Regions from separate parts of the Homo sapiens genome. Here region 1 is linked to region 2. The links are contacts of gene promoters, found by promoter capture Hi-C in blood cells and fetal thymus (Javierre and others, 2016). All regions are on one chromosome and are shown on one strand. Each heading gives the region's core, a stretch centred on a gene start or on the middle of the fragment in contact. The rest is flanking DNA. Distances are from core to core; before and after follow the strand shown.

The links. Contacts are between HindIII fragments. The CHiCAGO score rates a contact against its expected background, and 5 or more counts as called.
Region 1: a contact is called between a fragment that was not itself captured here and the fragment with the promoter of TMEM47 in region 2, in 1 of 17 cell types (M0 macrophages). The highest score is 6.2, in M0 macrophages.

What each region holds. Positions count from the first base shown.
Region 1 is chrX:36,877,650-36,880,349 of GRCh38, forward strand. No RefSeq gene overlaps it. Among named protein-coding and RNA genes, the nearest start is that of FAM47C, 130 kb to the right of the region's middle. The HindIII fragment of the contact is 785 bases long and covers 879-1,663 here.
Region 2 is chrX:34,655,894-34,658,593 of GRCh38, forward strand. It overlaps TMEM47 (transmembrane protein 47), which reads right to left and starts at 1,392. Exons shown (of 3, transcript NM_031442.4): 1 at 911-1,392. The coding sequence starts at 1,136. The HindIII fragment of the contact is 6,187 bases long and covers 1-2,700 here.

The DNA.
Region 1 (2,700 bases), core at 21-2,520, 2.2 Mb after region 2:
GATTTTAAGTGTTCTCATGACAAAACACAAATGATGAGAGGTAATGTGAATGTTAATTAGCCCAATTTTGCCATTACACAGTGTATATATATTTCAAAACAACATGTTATACATGATAGATATATACAAATGTTATTTGTCAATTAAAATAAATAAGAAAAAAAGAATTATACCTTCAAGTTGTTTCGTTAAAGAAAGAAAAAGGAGAAATTCTAGGCGAATAAATGACTAAAATCCTCTATCTTCTTTCAGCCCTATTTCATTGTGGGGGATCTTTCACTCCACCATTATTTTCTCAATACACAGTGGTGAATGACCCACTTGTTCATAGCAGATGGGTAGCCCCTCCTGTTTCCAATCTGTTTTTGGATTTCCCCCATACTGAATAGGTACCAGCTCTACTTTGTTATGATTATTGCTTTTATCTTTACAACTACTCTTATCCTGGCTGACACATAATACATTTTTGTTTCGATGAATTACTCCAGCCTTAAGGGGTCCTGCTACTACTCTGGCAACTCCCTGTTCCTTCCCATCTAATAAACGTTAAGTAGTATTCTTTGATCCCTGTAGCCTCATCTTGGTAATCTCTCTAGCTAGAACATGGAGTCAGGTTAAAAACCAGAGTCTTCTCAGTTCACCTCACGGGAGCAGTTAATAGAAACTGGAAGCACTAACTCAAGCATCAAAGAAATGAAATAACAAGAAAGGATGAATAACAGTTTTTAATAGTGGGAGGCCGCTATCTTCAGTGCATAATGAATGTGCATCAATGTCACTCTAAATTGTGGTTTCTAATGAATTTTAAATGTAATGTGCGATTTTTTAGCTGTTAATCATAAAAATGAAATAATCTAGGTTAGAGTCAAATAATGTGAAGCTTGTTCTGAGATTCCTTCCATAGACGCTCTCCTTCTGTTGACCCACTATCTGCCTCCACCAACTTAAGAACAAGGGTACAAATTAGGCAGCTGTGATCTGTAACTGGCTTGCCAGAACTATGACATACTGTAAGAGAAGAAACGACCCTCTACCTGTCACATTTTTAACCTCTTCCTTACTGAGTCATATTTAATCATATTTCAAAACAGGAATAAGTAAATCACACTACAGATCCCTGTATATGTTTTTTTTTCAATGAATCCATTAACCAGTTCCATTGTAGAGAGATTACATCAATTCAAAAATGTAAATTCCAGCTTTTCAAACTCAGCTCAGTAAAATTCTAAACTTCATTTCTAGATATCTGTTTACATGGGAAATTTATAACTTTCTGGCAGATAACTTGAAACACAGGAATAGCTAAGTGAGAAAGTATTTGAGTGATAGTATAGAGATTATCAATATTTCTGCTAATTGTTCACATTTTGTTTTTTCTCTTCCACATTTTCCCACAGGAAAAATCAGAAAAGAACACTCTCCATCGTCAGAAAGCATGACATTGTTGCCATATATGGAACAATTAAAAGTTATATCTCATCTGGAAGAAATATGACGGAAAAATTAATAAAGGAGGACCAGGTGGTAGAGGATTTAATGAAATGAAGGAATAATGAAAGGGTGTCTTAAACTAAGGCTACTCCATAACTTCGCTTGTATTAATGATAAGATATAGGTAGCCAGGATTTGGTCTGGGAATCTTCTATATTGATGCTATTGGATAAGCTTTAGAAGTAGATGAAATTCATGAGGTGAACTATCATTGCAAACCCTGAATTTTTCGTCTCTATCTCTGCCTAAATTCTGCACAGAATCCACTGTACTGAAAACTTTAGCATGACAGAAGTGACATATTAAAACAAATATTGCTGTCAGAGTGGTCTTCCTAAAATGCAAGTCCGACTACATTACTCTCTTTTATAGAGTCATCATTGCTCTCCTGTATAAGTTCAAATGCCCTGACACGGCTTGCATGGCCATATACTATCTTGCCCCCTCTCTTAAAACTTCCCTGTCCTGGGCCATGCGCGGTGGCTCACGCCTGTAATCCCAACACTTTGGGAGGCTGAGGTGGGCAGATCACAAGGTCAAGGGATCGAGACCATCCTGGCCAACATGGTGAAATCCCGTCTCTACTAAAAATGCAAAAATTACCTGGGTGTGGTGCCATGCAACTGTAGTCCCAGCTACTAGGGAGGCTGAGGCAGGAGAATCGCTTGAACCCGGGAGGCGGAGGTTGCAGTGAGCCAAGATTGTGCCACTGCACTCCAGCCTGGCGACAGAGCGAGACTCTGCCTCAAAAAAGAAAACAAAAAACAAACAACAAACAAACAAAAAAAACTTCCCTGTCCTTTCCTTGTCTTCCTCATTTTTAATTTCTTCTTCTAGGAAAGCTGTCTCTTTGTATAGTATATGTTCACCAATCTGGACAAGCACTCATCCCCTTGATCTGGCTAACACCTTAATATCATTCATATCTCATATCTACTTCCTCTGCACAGCTTTCCCTGATCATGTCCCTCCAACCTAGTGTCCCTGTTATGTGATTTTATAGTACCTTACACTTAACTTTTAGTACTGCACTTACTCTATACCATCATAGTGTATTTATCTGTCTTTCTTACTAAACTACAAATGCATTCTTTGTCATTGTTTCCTTAGCACCTTATACCCTATCTGACACACAGAATGTAATGAATATTTGTTGAATGTTTAATAAAAAAAAAAGAAGCAGATCCTATTGCAGAAATCATCTATGTA
Region 2 (2,700 bases), core at 142-2,641:
GTTTGTAGCGAGAAATCATAAGTTGACTGATTTTTGCTAAGGGCATAACTGGGGCGCCGGGGAAGGCAACTGGAGGGTCAGGGAGGGCGGAAAGCAGTAAAGCCCCCTGGGACTGGTAGCCTCAGTAGCTACCTTATTCTCCACTCCCCACCCCCATCTTATCCATTTGCAGCTTTCAGCGCTGGCGGAATAAAGCACAACTTTCTAGGCATCTGTGAGTAGCTCATGGAGAAAAGAAAGGTCTGGAGGAGAGAAGAGTTACTTAGAGTGGCAGAGAAAGAAAGGCAACTCACAATCAACGGCGGCGTCACCAAAAAAGGAAAGGAAAACAAGCCTGTCCCTCTCTCAACTCTTCATATCCATCAAAAACGTAAGGAAATAAAATCCAAACCGAAATACATTGGTGAAAACGCAGATAAGGTGGAGTGGAACCGGCAGAAATGTGAACACTAGGCAAATTCGTCCTCGAGAGAGGAAGGAAAAAGAGTGGGGAAGACCGAACAGCGAACCCCCGCAGCATCTCGGTGGAGTTGGGGCGTTTTTGCCTGCTTCTTTTTTAACGGGGGTGTGGAAGGCGTCGCATTTTTTTACACAGCCACATGGCTCTCGCCTCAAATGATAACAAATACCCAAAATAGCGTACGTGTTACTCCAGAACAGGAGGAATGGCCACGGGGAAGGGAGAGGGCGTGGGCTGTCGCTTTAGGTTTGGCGACCAGGGATGGGGAGGGAAGAGGGGTGGATGCCAGGGAGGTGGCGGGAGCCCCAGGATCCGAGAAGGGCCTGGACGGGGTGGGACGGGCCAGGGCAGAGGATGCGGGGACGTGGGGACAGGCGGTGACTGTCCTGGCAGTGGGGCGCGGGGCAGTCCGGGGCGGGAGGCAGGGGTCGCGGCGCGCCAGGCCCTCACCGCTGCTGAGCGTGGACTCGCAGTGCCAGATGTCCAAGCTGGCGGGTTTCCGGCAGGACTCCCACAACGACAGGTAGTACTGGTGGTCAGCTGTGACCCAGGCCGGGCTCAGCACCGCCCCCAGGTCCAGACACAGCGCCAGGAAGATGCACACCAGCCCGACCAGCTTCAAGGGGGTCAGCACCGACACGCGCACCTCCTCCATGCCGCTGCCCGCCGAAGCCATTCCTGGGCGCCGCTGTCGTCCGCCCCGCCGCAGGCGAGGACGCCAGGCGGGTCCGGAGAGCCGGGAGCCGGACCTCCCGAAGGGAGAAGCCGCCGAGCTGCCACGCGCGGGGACTCGCTCCCTCGGGGCTCTGCGCGCCCCCTGCCGCGCGGCCAAGGTGGGTCTGCGGAGGCGGCCGGCCGGGTGTGGGTCGTCGGCAGCCGCAGCGACGTCGATTCCACCCCGGACCTTCGCCGCCGGCCCCGCGCCGCGCTCTGCCAGCGCCCGCGCCCGCTCCTCCCGGCTCGGCCGGGCTCGCTCCGCCCCGGCCCCTCCCCGGGCTGCGGGAGGCGGTGCCGTACGGGGAGGGGCGGAGGGCCAGCACTTGGTGGCTTCGGCTCCAGTTCCCAGTGCCGGAGGCTCGCGCCTGTCCCGCCCCTACCCCGCCTCTGGCCCGCGGGCGGAGCCCAGTGCCAGCCCGCGCCCCCGATTCGCAGCGCGCGGCAGTTCCTTGAAGCAGCCCCGCGCCCAGCCCGGCCCTCGCCGGGCCCCCAGCCTCGCTGGCTCCAGGTCGCCGGGCTCTCCCCTTTCGCCCAGTCACGTGGGTTTCCTTTTCTTAGGGAGCAGGAGTGGGCGGTTTTCTAGAAGGCGCCAGAGGTGGATTCCTAGGTTTCCTAAGCTGTGCCTCTTGGAGCAAGGACAGGTCCTCTGTCTCTCAGTGATGTAACACGCCCCTCCCCGGACAATTTCACATCCTGAGAGATTTGCGGGACGGAGGAGAAAAGTGACTAAATGCATTTTGCCCTCTTTTCAAAACCAGACGGGCCCAGGAGTCCCCCGGTTTTCCCTGTTTTCTCACTTCTCCGCTAGCCTGCTGCCGCTTCTGTTCTCTGGGCTCACCTGCTTTTGCGCCCCCCTATGAAGGGCATTTGCTCTGAAAACGCAGGCGCTAAAAAGGAAATGAGAGCTCCTGCGAAATATGAAGTAAGTCTTATTTCCATCTCCACTGCTCTGCCCTTTGGGTGTTGGCTAAAACCTTTATTAATTCCGCTTTGCATTATGCCAAGCTGGATCTAATTCCCCTCCTGGGTATTAGGATGTCCTTGTCCTTAGCAAGATCTAGCCCAGGACCTGCAATAGGAAAAGTGATGTGTATATTTCCTGAATGGTAAACTAAGCAGTCTACAAATATTTGTTGAGCATCTAAGGGCTAAGGATTCAACACAATAGGACATCGTCCTGTTCTTAAGTAGATGCACCATATTTTCTCCCTTATGTGAGGACTAAACACCTCTTGAAATTGAAATTGAAATTTTGTAATTGCCTGGTTCAGCATGTGATTGGTGGGTTATCTGTCTCTTGTAGCTCTTTGACTCATCTCCATCTTTTCTATAAAATAAATAATTTATTGAATACATTAATGAGGAGGGGCGATGTTTCTAGATCTTTAGTCATCCCAAAAACTTGGTGAGACTCCCAAAACAGTGGTTAAGAGCTGAAGAATGCAAGAAACATGTTCTCTCTTCTATGAAACACAATCCTCAATGTTGCAAGATTTCATACTTTTGGTTGATAAAAATTATTT